6 separate regions of the Homo sapiens genome follow, and regions 2, 3, 4, 5 and 6 are each linked to region 1. Evidence: promoter capture Hi-C in 16 types of primary human blood cells and fetal thymus (Javierre and others, 2016). All regions are on one chromosome and are shown on one strand. The core of a region is centred on a gene start or on the middle of the fragment in contact, and the rest is flanking DNA. Distances in the headings are between cores, read along the strand shown. Region 1 holds the start of PLAA (phospholipase A2 activating protein). Region 2 overlaps MOB3B (MOB kinase activator 3B). Region 3 overlaps MOB3B (MOB kinase activator 3B). Region 4 overlaps EQTN (equatorin). Region 5 has its middle 25 kb from the start of EQTN. Region 6 overlaps TEK (TEK receptor tyrosine kinase).

Region 1 (2,671 bases), core at 71-2,570:
TCTTCACATGCCAGTTTTTAATTATTTATTGGCTTGTTTTTTAATCTATCTTCCCCATCAGACTGTAAGAAAGCTCCAGAAACACTGGCAACTTGTCTGTCTTTATTCCTCTCCAGTATCCCAAACAAAGAGGAGGCACTCAACAGTTATCAACTGAATTTATGGATGGTGACTCAAATTCTAAAATCTCTAGCAGTGGGAGACCTACTAAATAACAAAATAACTAACCTCAATTTTTCTTTCTCTGAACTGCAATCTGTCTTCTAGGTCTTAAATATCCTGTTACAACCAGCCAAATCAGGGCTGAACCCGTGAACTCGATCAGGACTGATTCCTAACCTTTTTCTTCTTTTTTTTTTTGGTTCGTGAACCCTTCTGATAAATCCTTTGAAGGCAATGGATGCTGCTTCTCCTCAAGAAACAGCACATGCACAGAAACAAAACATCCGAGAGGTTTCACTCCCTCAGGACCAGCACAGACCACAGACTAAAATTCTAACCTGGACGAAAAGAGGATTCACCAGTGCAATTTTTGAGAACTAAAGTCTTCAAAAATTAAATTTTACAGAAGACTACAGAGCATCTTCTTCGAAAAAAAAAAAAAAAGAGGACATTTCAGATGCCTTCAAACTACCTCACTTCGGAGGGTGCAACTGCAATCAGTAAATTTTCAAGTCTAAAAGAAACTTGGGAGATCATCGTCCAAAAACTGAAGGCCCAAAAGGTAGGAGACTCGTCTGTGGTCAAGTTAGCACAACAAGGCAGGTCTTTGGTCCCCCAACCCTGTGCTCTTTCCACTTAAATCCCGATGGTTTCTTACAGAGTTCTAATAGTCTGAGAATTGGAAGGGAGCGGAGAGCAGAGGGAAGGCTGGGGGGAGAGAGAGACGGCAGGACTGACAGGGAAGGGTCACTCTCCTTCCACTCTCCGGGAAGCGTGCAACACAGCCGGGGCAACCCGACTCCCAGCGCTCACCTGTCTGGGGCCCAGAGGCGGGTGGTGCGGTCTCGGGACACGGACACAAAGGCTCCCGGCGGATAGGCGCAGCACACCAGGCCCCGTACGTCCAGCTCGTGGCCCCGGAGCGAGCAGCTCAGCCGGTACCTGGTTGCGCCGCTCGTCATGGCCAGTGTCTGTCTGGCGCCCGGTGCCCAGGCACTGTGCGAGACCAGTCCGCAGGGGCGACTCGGAGAGCGCCGGGCCGCGGCGGGAGAAGAGCCTGCAGGTAAGGGGCGGCCGGAGACCGGAAGAGCCCGAGAGCCGGTACGGAAGGGCGGCTGGGAAGGGGCGCGCCGAGCGGGCCGAGTGACACAGCAAGCCTGACAGGCACTCCGGAATTCATCATCGGCCTCAGCCCTCCATGACGCAGAGTGTGTGCGTCCCAACCGCCGACGCCGATGCGGAGCTGAGCTGGCTTTCCTCCAGGGCTCTGGACTCCCTGCTGAGCAAGAGAGAAAGAGGCCCGCCCTTCCACCAGGACGCCTGACCCTGGGGTCCTTCCCAAACCCGGGTCTCTTCCGACTCCGGGCCCAACAGTTTGTGGTAAATCGGGAAGCGGGCCGGGACTACAATTCCCATAATGCCGCGCCAGCTGGCGTGGACATCCGGCGCGCCGAATCCGGATATTTTAAACCTGAGTCTTTCGCGCTGGGCATGGCGGAATGGCTGAGTGAGGTTGTTTGGTGTCTACTGTTAGGTCATCCTCACTGCTTTTCCCTGAGAATCTCGAGGTTTTTGCAAGTTAACCTTGTTTTTCAATTAAAACGAGAAAGCTTGAGGCCAAATTGGGAACTATTAATCATTGAACTATTCCTCCGTTTCAAGTTATCTGAATCTCCTACTCTCTGTTGTCAAATTTAGCAAATACGGTGGTCCAAGTCAATTTTTTAAAGGTATAACTACTTTTCTCTGGCGGCTTGTTAAAATGTAGATTCTGATTCAGTAGGTCTGAGTTAGAGCTGAGATACGTATTTTTAACAACCCCGCCGCCCACCCACCCGTGGTGCTACTTGCTAGTCATTATCAGACCTTATTGAGTGCCAGGGTAAACATGACCTGTCTCCTTACTTTGTTTTCTTCCCATCCGCTATTCTCTCGCATCCAACTACACTTTTCCACAAACCTTTCTAAATTGCTAAGCCCAATTCACACTTTTCTGACTTCTCCCTTCCTAAAACTCCTACTCTAGGTTTGGAATCACTTTTCCCCTGGTTTGGGAGATCATTCTTGAAATGCTGACTTTTGATACTTCTTTGCTATCATATCCCCTCCCTGGGTGGATTATTTACTACTTGGCTTATTTCTAGAGCTGTATTCCCATATTGTCTTCTCCAAACTCTAGATCTGTATTTCTAGCTATCTGTTAGAAATCTGTACCAATTAGTCCTACTTAAATTATTTCAACATTTCTCTGGCCTTTCTACCCCTTCTCTCCAGCCAATCCTACACATTAAAATATAATTATCTTTCTGAAATATACACTTAATTGTTTTTTCTCTGTTTGACAACCTGTGATGGCTTTCCATTATTTTTTTTTTTTTTTTTTTTTTTTTTTTTTTTTTTTTTTTGAGACGGAGTGTCGCTCTGCTGCCAGGCTGAGTGCAGTGGCGCGATCTCGGCTCACTGCAACCCTCGCCTCCCGGGTTCAAGCGATTCCTGCCTCAGCCTCCCG
Region 2 (2,671 bases), core at 76-2,575, 420 kb after region 1:
ACCACAAGGACTAAATGAGAAGCACAGCACCAGCAGGCACACAGAAGGCATCTGGCAAATGGCAGCCGATGTTACCAACGCTAGGAAGACGGCTCTTCTGAATCAATGCCAAGACAGGGGTGGCAGGAGGGCAAATGAAACAGGACAGGTGAAGCTGCCTCTTCTCCAAAGGATAAACTCTTCTTGGAAAGTATACTTGGAAGACATGTCATATATTGGAAGAGCATGTGAACTGTCCAAGGAGCTTCCAAAGGACATATGATGAAACCTGATTTCCTGGCCAATCCTTTGGGACCCCTGATGGCATGTCAACAACAACCAGAAGTGCCCATGTTTCTCCTTGAAACTGTTATTCATGTCTGAGGGCATTTGTGCTGTCCCTTCTGTCTTCAGAGTCCAGTAATAAGAGGGATGTGAAAATCCCTCTACAAGTCATAAAAACCACTCATTCTCAATAGTTCATGAATAAAAACAACATCCCACACACGTGGAAAAAGAAAACATACCTCCTCTGGCAGCGTGGCTGAGAACACACCATTTCCAAAATACTTGCAAAACAAGATGCAATCGGATCACAAGGCAAAAACAAAACAAAACAAAACAAAACACATGAACAACACAGATGTTTCTTAATAATATATATCCTCCTCCTCTTAGCTTATTCTCTTGCCCCTTCATCCATCCATTCTCCTGCCTCCTGCTCTCTGTCTATATATATACATACATATACATATATATACACACACATACATACACACACACACACACACACACACACACACACATACAGAGAGGGAGAGAGAGAGAAGCTTCGTGTTCTTGCTGATGCTGATGAAAATTCAGCTGCGAGGATTGATTCCTCTTAGCAGATGTTTTGTGTTATCTCAGTACGTTCCTCAAGAAAGTGTCTGTTCGTCATGCCAAGGAAAACAATCCTGTGTAGCAGGACTTTGTTCCTCTGCCTAAAAAAAGAGAAAACAAAGTCCCCAAACAAGCTGACAGCTGCAAATGCTTAGAAATAAACTGGCTACTACTCTGTTTTCCAACTCCCTCCCTCTGCCCCTCCCCAGCCCCTTTGTGCTGTCCTCCAGTCTGTTATCATGGTGGTTGGGCCAAAAGAAAGACAAACAGTGGTATGTGATTATATGTTCTCAAGAGAGTCTTAATTCTTTCAGACATGCCATGTGCTGGGCATAGGAAGTGCTGTTTCAGCCACCCCAAGGAGCAACCATGAGTCCAGCGTGCCTGCTCGTCACACCTCCTCCTACCCCTGAGCGCCACTTCTGAGTTGCTCATCAGCATCCCCAGCTCCCAGATGGCTGCCTTTGTCCCCTGCTTTCACAGCATGGATGTGAAAGGAGCAGTAGATTAAGAAAGACCCAAGATAACCCGTGAAAGATATTCACTGTGGATTGACAATAAAAGCCATTAGAAACAAACCCTAGACCGTGTAAACCTGACCAGTTTGCTGAAAATCAAATGGGACAAATGAGCCAGAGCTGAGAACAGGATGTTAATGAACTTCATTGGTTCTGGAAAGTCAGGCTGAGGTACCAGGAGTTTGATCAGGAATATAGGTCTAGGACTACCACACCTTCTGGTTTTTTTCATGAGCCCCAACCAGAATTTGAAAGCCAGGTTCTTTGTCATGGATGTAATATTGTGAGTATCCTCACAAATAAAACTATTCTTTATTCCCCAGTAGAATCTTTCTTCCATTATGTGGGGACAATTAACACCAAGTCTTGTCTTGAACAGTTGCTGATCTCTAAATTTCTCTTCAGCCCCACTGCCTCCTTCCTAGCTCACCTCCTGCCTAGTTTATGCAGGTCCCTTGTAACTAAGCTTCCTTTCTTTACTCCTGCATTTCTTCAATCTCCACTTGGCAGGTGAAGGACCTTCCCAATACGCAAATCTAACCAGGAAGCCTGTTTTTCTGCATAAAACTCTAAAGCAGCCTCCTACTGCTTCCAAGGTGAAATCAAAGCTATTTAACATGCAGGCAAGACCCTTTATGATTTCACACATGCAGTGGTCCACCATCATTTCTGGATTCTCCCAACTTGCATGTAATACTCCAGCCATCTGAAGCTACGATCCTCTTTCTCACTTGCTTCTGGGCGTTGCTACATACTGGAGGGTTGGTAGCTGGAAACCTCTTCCTCAGCTTCTCCATTTCGCCTGACTAACTCCCATTTGTTATTCAAACCTTAACTAATTTGTCACTTCCTCTAGAACGTCCTCCCTGGCCACCTCACCCTCAGTCTAGGTAGGCATATCATAACACCCGCTGCTTCTTCCATGACAATACTACCACATCAACTTTTAATTGTCCTTTTTTTTTTTTTTTTTTTGTCTCCCAGGAGACTGAAAATTGTGTAATGTCAGGGATCTTTCTTGTTCATAGTCATAGCCCTGGCATCGAATGCATAGCAGAACACGGTGGTTCTCCATATGTAATTATTGAATGCAACGGATTGAATGCTTATGCCCCCCTCAAATGCACGTGTTGAAATCCTAATTCCCAGGCTGATGGTACTAGGAGGTGGGGCCTTTGGGAGGTGATTAGGTCATGAAGGCAGACACCCCATGAATGGGATTAGTGCCTTTAAAAAGGAGGGTCCTGGCTGGGCGCGGTCGCTCAGGCCTGTAATCCCAGCACTTTGGGAGG
Region 3 (2,671 bases), core at 46-2,545, 390 kb after region 1:
CTCCACAAGTGGGGCCTCCTGGGGCATGACTTTCTAAGGAGCCCTCAGTTGCATCCTTGGTGCAGAGTGAGGGTGAGTCCAGGGCTGCTTAATCTGCTTTCCCGGACCATTCCCAGCTGTTTGTGTGAGGCTGTGGAGGGAGTGCTGCAAGTTAGGGATCCCTGGGAACCCTCGGGGAGAGTCTCCCTGCCATGCACTCCCCCTAGGCTCAGGGGACTTCGTTCTTGCCCTCAAGGCCTTTTCTGCAGTGGTCAAGCTGGTGGAGCTTCCTGCCTGGAAGCTTGTTTTCAGAGGAGGGTAAAGGGACCAGGAGTCAATGGTGGAATCCTTAGGCGAGGTTCAGGCATGAGGCCTAAACATTTTTTTAGGAACTATTTTTTTGTAACGTTGTTGTGTCTGTTTCAGAGCATCTGGGAGAGAGAATTCCAGTAGGGGCTGACATCAGCCACCCCAAATTTATTTTGGAACTAGGCTTTATTGGTATAAATAACTTGAGAAGTGAACGAATGAATGAATGAAGCCGTGCCAGGTCACAAGAGTCAGAGTGAACAAGATGGGGCAGTGATAAGAGAGCCATCATTAACCAAAGTGTCTTGTGTTCCGAATGGAGTAGTTTCTATCATTTCCTGCACCTTTTCTGTGTGCCAGGCACTGTGCTCAATGCTGGACATCATTTCATTCAATCCTTACATCAGTCTTATGGGGTATGTGGTATCATTCTTATTTTACAGAGGGGTAATGGAGGTTAAGTACCTCGGCCATGGCCACATCACTAATAATTACCCTGGCCAAGGTTGAAACTTGAAAACCCATCCTCCTAACCAGTCTACTATATCCTGAGCCATCGTGCTGAATATATCTTCATTCATATCTACATGTGCTGTTTCAGTTGAGTCTCTGAATCAGCGGCTGTACCACACCAGCATGGGCCACGGGAGTAGGGACTCGGCTGGCAGGACCGTTCCCAGGAGGCCCACAGCCAGGGCTGCTGTTCTTCCTTTGCTAGCATCCCAAAGTCTGAATTCTTATAAAGCAGGCAGGGCAGCCAGTCTACAAAAATATTTTTAAAATTTCCCCAACTCTAAGTATATACAGGATCCAACCAGCACACAGGAATTAGAAATGTTCTTTCTGCTCTCTTTTAGGAATGTGGGTGGCAAATAAGCCAAACGAAATAAAAATAGAAACAAGGCAGGCCAGACTTCCCTAAACCACACAGAACAATATTTATTTGATTAATTCTGTTCCTAAACAACAGCCCACATTACTGACACGGAGGGCGTTTCCACGATGGAGGGGTGCGTGTGTGTGAATGTGTGCACATATGTGCAGGCTCCCAAGTGCACATATACATATGTATGGCTAGATAAACACACACACTCGCCACCCACGGAGAATATTTATTCATACCGATACAAAAATCAAACTGCTCTTCTTTTTCCAAACCCTGCAAACATTAAAAATAAGTCACTTTATGTAAACATATTCAGCCTCCTGATTTACATTGTTTCTTATAAAGACAGAGCTGCACATTTTTGAAGTTCTCTCATTTAACCACAGGAGATGGGTTACGGACACATGGTGGGTTGCCTCATAGTGCATCGTGAAAGCAAGAGCATTAATCAAAACTGTTTGTGGTCACTGTATCTCTGCAGATCCCCTCCCTAGAGCCCCGCAGCCCACCCCTCATTCTGCAACTCTGTGCTTTTTTTTTAGCACCCTGTCTTGCTCTGTGGATCCACCTACCATGTCCTTCCCACCTGTATCAACCTGGCTGATGCACTGATGGGACAGGGGATCCAACCTGATTTCTGCTCAGACTGATGCTACCTGTGATCAAAGGAGCCTGTGATTTCTGCTCAAAGCGACACTGAGATCTCTGACATTTGGCTGCTGCTCCCCGCTCCTTTCCTCCTCTGTTACCCAACTTCTCCAGAGCCCCCATGGAGGTCTGCACAGTTGGCAGGAGTCTGCCTCCCTCCTTCTCATACCCAGCATTTGTCAGCGCAGCTGGATTGGTTTCTGGCAGATGCTGCTGCTGCCCCTTGTTCTGGGATGAGCAAAGGGTGACTGAGTGCACCCACCCGCTTTGAGGAATGAAACAGATTTCAGCATGGCCCAATGCCCCCTGTAGGGTTGTGCAGTTCCTTAAAGGCTGGATGCGGGAGGGCAGGGGAAGGAATTCTCACATTTGCTTCTGTCATGTGGCCTTTCTATCAGGAGTGGGAGGGAAGGCACTGGCCGGTGAAGCAGAGAGTACCGGAAACTCCAGGTTAGGTTGCAGGCACCAGAGTTTTATTTATTCTGACAGAAGCTTAATGGGGGCAACTCTTAATGACATGCAAGAAACGCTGAACAAACGGTTTGTCCTTTTGGAGGGAGTATTCTGAACTTTCAGAGCATGGGTCCCTAAAGGAAGAATTTACCTCCCCTGGGAAAACAAAGGATTCCATAGAAGCCGTTCAGCCTAGCTGAATTCACCACAGGACAGAGCTTGCCATTGCTTAATAAGACCTCTATTGTGTGTCTGATGAAAACATATGGGGAATGTGCTTCCTCAGTGAGCCTGTAATTTAGGAAGTCTGTAGTTTCTAAGCAGTCTCACTCCTTTGGTAGGAACAAAGTGTTATTTTGATGGAGTAAATAGACATGAAACAAAACTAAAATTTTC
Region 4 (2,671 bases), core at 76-2,575, 340 kb after region 1:
GGCCTGTTATTTTGGGAATAATTAAACAAATTACGTTAAAATGGGCTGTGCTCCTGAATTGCTTTTCTGTCTCCTGAAAGGGTTTTTAATAAAGATGTGTGCTCATAGTACATCTTCTTTATCTAGGTGATGGTCAGAACTAGAGAAGGGTTTGGAATTCGTAATCACTGGAAGTGACAGAAAAGCTAGTTACAAGCGTGGGCAGCTTTTCTCTCTAAGCCTCAGTTTTCTCAACTGTAAAATGAAGATAATACCAACTTCATGGAGTTGCTGTGAAGACTAACATAATAATGTATCTACAACACCTAACACGTAGTATGTGCTCAATAAACAATAAAATCAGTCAAGCTGAATTTAATCACTTAAATATTAAATAGGAGAAATGACACAGTATTTATAAAATGAGCCAGCATTTGTCATTCCTGTTTATAACTTTTCTAAACAAAGAAGGATCACTCAATTTTCTTTTCTTTTCTTTTTTTGAGATGGAGTCTTGCTCTGTCACCCAGGCTAGAGTGCAGTGTGCAGTGGCACAATCTTAGCTCACTGCAACCTCTGCCTCCCGGGTTCAAGTGATTCTCTTGCCTCAGCCTCCTGAGTAGCTGGGATTACAGGTACCCAACACCACGCCTGGCTAATTTTTTGGTATTTTTAACAGAGACGGGGTTTCACCATGTTGGCCAGGCTTGTCTCGAACTCCTGACCTCAGGTGATCTGCCTGCCTCAGCCTCCCAAAGTGCTGGGATTACAGTACCCAGACAAATGACTCAATTTTCTTGAAGCGCCACAAGGCAAATGGCCACACTTATCAATCCAGTGCACAAATGAGGGGACAGGTCTTAGATATATCATCATGCTATTTTTCAACCATTTATTTGTAGGACAGAGGTTTTTTTTGGGGAAATTAATGTGGTTCTTTCATGAAATTTTCCATTCAAATTAGGAGTTTTACCTCTATTAGTATAATTAAGCCATTAAGGAAAACTCTATCCAGCAACAGGAGCTCACATTGATTGCTGGTGAGAATTCCAAAAATACTTTGGAAGATAGTTTGGTAGTTTCTTACAAAGATAACCACTCTCATCTTCCCACCTTGCCCTCCCAAAGTGCTAGGATTACAGGCAAGCCACCCACTGCACATGAACATACTCTTACCATATGATCCAGAAATCATATTCATAGGTATTTACCAAAATGAGTCGAAAACTTATGTACACACAAAACCCTGCACACAAGTGTTTACAATAGCTTTTTTCATAATTGCCAAAAATTGGAGGCAACCAAGATGTCATTCAGTAGAAGAATGAACTAGGGTGCATTCATACAATGGAATATCAGTAATAAAAATAAATGAGCTCTCAAGCCACAAGAAAACATGGAGGAATCTTAAATGCATATTGCTGAGTGAAAGAAGCTAGTCTGAAAAGGTTACATACTGTATGACTCCAACTATATGACATTCTAGAAAAGGCAAAACTATAGCGATAGTAAAAAGATCAGTGGTTTTCAGGGGTTCAGGAGGAGAGAGGAACAAAGGGATGAATTGATGGGGCAGAGGAGATTTTAGGGCAGTGAAACTTTCGTATGATACTGGGATGGTAGACACGTGATATTATGCATTTGTCAAAACCCAAAGACCTGTATAATACAGAGTGAATCCTGATGTAAATTATGGACTTCAATTAATAATGAATCACTATTATTGGTTCATAAATTGTAACAAAGGTACCACATCATGCAAGACATAGGGGAAACTGAGGAGGGTGAAATATGGAAATTCTGTACGTTCTGCCAAATTTTTCTTTAAACCCAAAACTGCTCTAAAAATAAAGTCTATTTTGAAAAAAGACTGCATTCTACATATTATTCACTCACCTCCTCCATTTGGTTTCAGGAATAAATGTTACAAAACAGGAAGGTGGTAATGGTCATGTGGGAGGTATAACTAAAAAAGAATGCTTGGGAACTATAACTCTCCTGAACAGTGAATGTCCTCTCTGAGATGTTAGTCACCTTTCATACGCCAGACTTCACTAGGAAAAATATTATCATCATAAAGACACTAAGATGTGTAAGAGTATTTATGTGTCTATTAGTTGAAGTACTTTGGTTCATTTGTTGAGACAGGGTCTCACTCTGTCGCTCAGGCTGGAGTACAATGACATGCCACCGTGCCCACCTAATTTTTGTATTTTTTGTAGAGAAAAGGTTTTTGTCATGTTGCCCAGGCTGGTCTCGAACTCCTGGACTCAAGCGATCCACCTGCCTCAGCCTCCCAAAGTGCTGGGATTATAGGCATTAGCCACTGCACCCAGTCAATTGAAATATTTTGTTCTTACCTGGAATTGGGTGAAATAATTGATCTTTATCATCCATGACCACTGCTGTTCCATTTATAGCTGTTAAAACAAATTGGGGTTATGGTAAACAACGTTCACTTACTAAAATTATTGCCTGTGTATGTATGTGTATGTATAATTATAGTACCCAGTGTGTGTACAGTCTGTTCTCATTATTCGTGGCAGTTATATTCTATAAAGTCTTATAAACACTGTATTAACGAATACTGAACTGTTGCTCCCAGGGTAAATACAGGGTTAGATTCCTGCAAGTCTGGTCACAGCATTTTCATCAACTGATAAATAAATAACCTTGTTTTATGTGTGTTTCT
Region 5 (2,671 bases), core at 91-2,590, 330 kb after region 1:
GATTACCAGAGACTGAAAGGAGAGAGGAATGGGGAGTTATTTAATGAGTACAGAATTTCTGTTTGAAATGATAAAAAAGCTCTGGAAATGGATAGTAGTGATAGTTTCATAACATTGTGAATACACATCATACCACTGAATTGTACACTTAAATGGTTAGAATGGTAATTTTATGTTACGTGTATTTTATAGCAATTTTAAAAAGTCATTGACACTAACAAAAAACGCTACAGAACAATATCTGTGATAAATATAGACACAAAAATCCTCAATGGAATACTAGGAAATGTAACCTAGCAACGTATAAAAAAAGATTATATGCCATGACCAAGAACACCTATCAAATAAATGTAAGGTTTAACACAGAAAGTCAATGCAATGTATCATATTAATAGAATAAAGGATAAAACCTGTGTGACAGCTCAATAGATGAAGAAAAAAGCATTTAACAAAATCTAACACAATGAGGCACTCAACAAACTAGGAATGGAAAGGAATTGTCTCAACTTAATAAAGGTTATATGTAAAAACCCCATAGTTATCATTGTACTTAATGAAGAAAGACTTAAAGCTTTCCCCCTAGGATCAGGAATAAGACAAGCATGCCCCTTATTACCACTGCTGTACCCATGTTTCCTTTGTTAGGTTTTCTGAGCCATGGGGCTCCCCTGTGCAGAGGATGGAGCTAGCAGACAGTCCTCACCCTGCCCAGACCCCCTAGAAGTAACCAGGGGACTTTTGGTAACTGAAAAAGACCATAAAAGTCATCCAAGAGGGAAGAAGGAACTGAACCAGTCCCATGGCCTGGTTTTGAAAATGTAATGAAGAGAAAATGAATAAAGTTATTTGCTAGTTGTGCTCCATGAGTTTTTTATTCAATGTAATAATTTTGTGTGTGTCTTCAGATAAATTACATTATATAATACCAACCTTGTAAACAGCCTCATCCTCTGTTTTACAAACTTTCAAATACTTCTCAACAAAGAGGTTGATGTAGCGTTGTCTTACTTCATCAGGTACTTTGGATAAGAATTCTGATGTTACTGAATGTCTTTTCCGATGAGCCATCTTGTTAAATGTATCTTTTGGCCTCTTGTTAAAAATAAAAGTGTTATTAGAGAAAAGAAGACATGTTTCTGTTTAATATTCCTACTGAGTATATGGAAGAAGTAAAACTACCTTAGGTCAGTTATATCAAAATTAAATTGAAAAGTAATTTCAAGTGTCAAGTTGAAGAGGTAGAATAAACACAAAGTATAAAATTACTTAAACTCACAAAATGGAGAAGTGAGACTGCCACATCTGTGCTGCTACCTGCACGTACGCAATGATAGCTGATCACTCATCTAATTGTACTACTGTTCCACAACCAGATTCCTAAAGCTGGGATTTGCTCCTCTGATTCAAATATAGCAAAGTTTGTAGGTTGCCATCCTTCAACTATGTATCCCAATGTCTTTCTGATAGCACATCATTAAGAAAAATGCTTGGACTTAAAATTTCTGAGTGACTTGAGTATACTTAATATTAAAGTGATCCCAGCTATAAACTCTTAGCATTTCTTCTGAAGGACTTATAAAAAGACCCAGAGAACTTTAAAATCAGTTAATCTGCTTCACCTTTGAGGAAAAATAAAACCAAGCCAACATCATACTTCTCAGTAATTGTTTGCATGTAATACAAAGACATTTTAGGGATGGAGAAAACCTTAAAACTGCCAGGTGGTTTTCTGCTACAAAATAATTGGAAAACAGGGGAGGAAAATCACTGCCACAAGTAGAATAAGAATTACTTAAAGAAGGCTACAACATCATATCACTGATGGCATTATTTAGTAAAGAGCTGTCTCTGTCTCATATACATAAACAAATATACACCCTCACTGGACACAGCTTGAAACTTTCCTTTTAAAAAATGTTGAGTAGGTTTCAATTAACCATAGCCATAGATGTTTTAAGTCTAAAACAATGCCTACTATTTCCAAGGATAGAATCAACAAAACATCTAAGAGTGACACAAATTACATCATAATGAAAATAACTATATTCATCGGTAAGCTAAAAAATGTTGACATTTTTCTCTATTGGGTCTGGCATTTATCTGAATTTGAAAGCTTCAGAAAAAAATATAGCCACTCTTCCAGGGACTCTATATGTAAGCAGGATATGATGAAATATAATTCTGGTGTTCAGACTTAGTTTATAATACCTAAACAGAAAGAGAAGCAATACTTTTGACAGGAATGAACGATTTGGTTGGTTTTGCAGTTGGGTTTTCTCTTGAAAGAACTACATTCAGATGAAGGTCCATTGTGAGTGAATATTCTAAGAAGTTTTCATGAACAAGGAAAAGAAAAGATAAATTTTAATGACATTAACCTCAGATGATTAGAGTTTAATCATTAATTCAAAATTTCACAACACTTCCTTTATAGGTTTGAAACATGCAACCTGGAAGAAAACAACATTCAAATGCAAAAAAATCCCAATAACCCACTCCAGTATAATTCAGAAGAATGAATTGAGATAATTGATAAAACAATTGTAAAATACTTGCAAAATAGTACTACTATTGTGTATCATTTAGAGATAAACAAAGTATTGACTGGGAGTGGTGGCTCATGCCTGTAATCTCAGCACTTGGGGGGCCGAGGTGGGTGGATCGCTTTAAG
Region 6 (2,671 bases), core at 44-2,543, 270 kb after region 1:
GGAGGATTTAACAACCTGTGTTTTTTATTTGTTCGTTTTCTGAAATTCTTCTGCCAAGATGTGGTGTGTCATTTGGCAGAATCCATTACCAGGGAATTTTGGAGGGGAACTTTAAGGGAACTGGATTGTGACTGTTTAAAATCCTTTTTTATACTATTGTTTTCTTTCCTGTTCCCCAAAGTTTTCAGCCCTGGGGCTTTCATTAGGCTGAAAATACATAATGTTTTCAAAAATTTCAGTTTATCCACAGGGATCTGGCTGCCAGAAACATTTTAGTTGGTGAAAACTATGTGGCAAAAATAGCAGATTTTGGATTGTCCCGAGGTCAAGAGGTGTATGTGAAAAAGACAATGGTAAGTGCCAGACACAGACACTGATCGCATCCTTTCCGAGGTACTCCCCTGTCTCCTGATGTTGCTTCTGAGACTGTCAGTGCTCTGTGGTGACTGAAGCATCTGACTGTATGTCCCAGTAGATACTGTGTGCCCTGGGAAACATTCTTTCTAAATGTTGGTTCCTAACATGATTGCAGCATCTGCATTAATTAATAATGAAGAAGGCACTGTCATGTGTGACCAAGTGATTGAATGTTCAAACCTAGTGGTTTGGGGTCTTGGTTCTATCCAGTCCAGACCCCAAGGCATCTCACTCAGGAACCTCTGAGGAGCTTGCACAATCCCCTTTCATGCACAGCTGACACAGCAAGGAAAAAAATTAACATATTTTCCAAAAGTCAAGAAGACAAACTAAATGGTTTCTAAATCACCAGGAGGCTCTACAGAGAAATTCATAACTTCTACAGGCTCATCTAAGATTTCTCTCTTCACTGAAACCTCAATGGTCACTATTCAAACCCAAATAAAATCCACTCTCCCAAACAGTAATATTTTATCTTTAAGTACAAGATTGCAGGAGAACCTAACCATACAGTCTTAGAGGAAGAGAGATACTCATTCTGCTTTTGGTGCCCAGTCTAGAATCACATAGTCCTAGAAGTACCGCATCCCTGCATGTTACAGCTGTGTGGATGAAATGTCACCATCCTCTCTTTTCCTTGGGTGGGCAGAATGCAGGGGCCTTAGGGATGACAAGCCCTGCAGCCTTTCCATGTGTCTGGCAGATCTACTCTGGTGGATGGCTCTCCCTTTTTTAGGTCTGATGAACATTACTTGGTCCCAGCTTTCCTGGGATGGCTCCAGTTGTCATAAGATATAGACAATCTTTTTGCTTTTGTGGGCACACCAAATTGTCTCTTAGCAAGGCTCAGGTTCCGGCATTTATTCTCAATTCCAGGCTTCTTTTTTTCCCATCATACTTATTTTAGTTACTGAGAAGATAAAGTAAAACAATACTCAAGAACATTTTGAAAGGAAATCACCCATAATTCACCACCTTGGCATATATATTTTTTTCATTTTGGCTTATTGCCTTTCACAGCATACATCCTTTTACATAGCTACAACCACAGTGAACGTAATCATTTTGGATCTTTCCACTCTCCTTTCTGATGAGGGTGTGAAGCTGGGTCCCTTTGGCTCTTCGAGGGCCCTGCATGCTTATCAACATCAACACTTTCAGAAGCCATGTGTGCCTCCCTGAGGGCTGGCTTCCAGGTGATGCTTTTCTCCCTAACCTTTTCAGGCATACTCAAAGCAGATGCTTCTCTGGAGCAGGGGTGGGCTTGTTTTCTTAAAGAAGCAGAATCCATCACTCACCTACCTACTCCAGCTTTCCCAACTCCTCCCTCACCACCTGGTGTCCTCAAATCTCCTTCCTGAAATCCTTTTCCCTGCTTTACTCCAGCACTTGGGGGATGTGGGTACCCTGGGTGAGAAGGTGGAGGGATAACACAGGATAACTCCACAATCTACCCATTCTATTTGGATGCTCTCCTCAGCCTCCCAAGACTAGCACTGGTTTGCTTGGCATTTCATAAAGGGCAGTGATTTCTGCAATATTGGGGTTATTTACAGGGGGAGAGCACCTATCAGGTCTCAACTCTATCTTACAATAGACTAAACAGGGTAAAGGTGTTCTTTAGCACCTTGGGGCTGGGGAGGAAAGGGCCAGGTTTGAGGGAAGGGGGAAGAAAGAAGGATTGGAGAGGAGCAAGTTCCCTGCAAGAAAGGTGCAGTGTGGCAAGACACTCCTAGAGAACACAGTGGCTACCTTCTCTGGCAGCCAATTTTAAAATCAGATTTTCAATTCTCATTGTACTTCAAAGCATCTGCATTTTTTAAAGATCCCCAGATGATTGAGTCCTATCCTGTGGATATTCTGATTCAATTGGTCTAGGGTGAGAACCCTGCATTAGGGTTTTTTTTTTTTTTTTTAAGTTACCCAGGGTGATTTTAATACTGGAAGTATTACTGCAAACTACTATACTAAGCAATTTGGGGTTTCACTATCATAGATTAATATATCCATCCCGTCATCATGGATTTGTTAGTACAATGTTTCATGCTTGTGCTAGATTTTGGGGTAACATAAGTCAGACACAGTCTCCACCTTCAAAGAGCTCGTAGACATATGACTCAGGATTGTAACAGCTGATAAATGCAAAGAGCAAGGAAAGCATAGATGCTACGGGAACACAAAGAAGGTGCACTGAACCAAGCTGAAAGGAAGTTAAGGAGGGCTTCCTGGAGGAGGTCAAATCCTGAGTTTCATA

Evidence for each region. Contacts are between HindIII fragments. The CHiCAGO score rates a contact against its expected background, and 5 or more counts as called.
Region 2: a contact is called between a fragment that was not itself captured here and the fragment with the promoter of PLAA in region 1, in 1 of 17 cell types (total B cells). The highest score is 5.4, in total B cells.
Region 3: a contact is called between a fragment that was not itself captured here and the fragment with the promoter of PLAA in region 1, in 1 of 17 cell types (total B cells). The highest score is 5.5, in total B cells.
Region 4: a contact is called between a fragment that was not itself captured here and the fragment with the promoter of PLAA in region 1, in 1 of 17 cell types (endothelial precursors). The highest score is 5.3, in endothelial precursors.
Region 5: a contact is called between a fragment that was not itself captured here and the fragment with the promoter of PLAA in region 1, in 2 of 17 cell types (megakaryocytes and endothelial precursors). The highest score is 6.9, in megakaryocytes.
Region 6: a fragment that was not itself captured here is called in contact with the fragment with the promoter of PLAA in region 1 in 1 of 17 cell types (megakaryocytes); the score reaches 5.5 in megakaryocytes.

The regions. Positions count from the first base shown.
Region 1 is chr9:26,945,922-26,948,592 of GRCh38, forward strand. It overlaps PLAA (phospholipase A2 activating protein), which reads right to left and starts at 1,321. Exons shown (of 14, transcript NM_001031689.3): 1 at 976-1,321. The coding sequence starts at 1,124. It also overlaps a transcript of IFT74 not described here. RefSeq lists enhancers at 396-1,071, 815-1,074, 1,072-1,745, 1,335-1,644. The HindIII fragment of the contact is 3,001 bases long and covers 1-1,770 here.
Region 2 is chr9:27,367,602-27,370,272 of GRCh38, forward strand. All of the region lies in intron 2 of MOB3B (MOB kinase activator 3B), which reads right to left. Among named protein-coding and RNA genes, the nearest start is that of EQTN, 72 kb to the left of the region's middle. RefSeq lists enhancers at 1,480-2,233, 2,234-2,671. The HindIII fragment of the contact is 1,036 bases long and covers 808-1,843 here.
Region 3 is chr9:27,338,898-27,341,568 of GRCh38, forward strand. All of the region lies in intron 3 of MOB3B (MOB kinase activator 3B), which reads right to left. Among named protein-coding and RNA genes, the nearest start is that of EQTN, 43 kb to the left of the region's middle. The HindIII fragment of the contact is 2,034 bases long and covers 279-2,312 here.
Region 4 is chr9:27,287,333-27,290,003 of GRCh38, forward strand. EQTN (equatorin) reads right to left here. Exons shown (of 8, transcript NM_020641.3): 6 at 2,340-2,399. Among named protein-coding and RNA genes, the nearest start is that of EQTN, 8.5 kb to the right of the region's middle. The HindIII fragment of the contact is 2,863 bases long and covers 1-2,671 here.
Region 5 is chr9:27,270,997-27,273,667 of GRCh38, forward strand. It overlaps the pseudogene REXO6P. Among named protein-coding and RNA genes, the nearest start is that of EQTN, 25 kb to the right of the region's middle. The HindIII fragment of the contact is 1,542 bases long and covers 570-2,111 here.
Region 6 is chr9:27,213,245-27,215,915 of GRCh38, forward strand. TEK (TEK receptor tyrosine kinase) reads left to right here. Exons shown (of 23, transcript NM_000459.5): 18 at 240-353. Among named protein-coding and RNA genes, the nearest start is that of EQTN, 83 kb to the right of the region's middle. The HindIII fragment of the contact is 4,902 bases long and covers 1-2,671 here.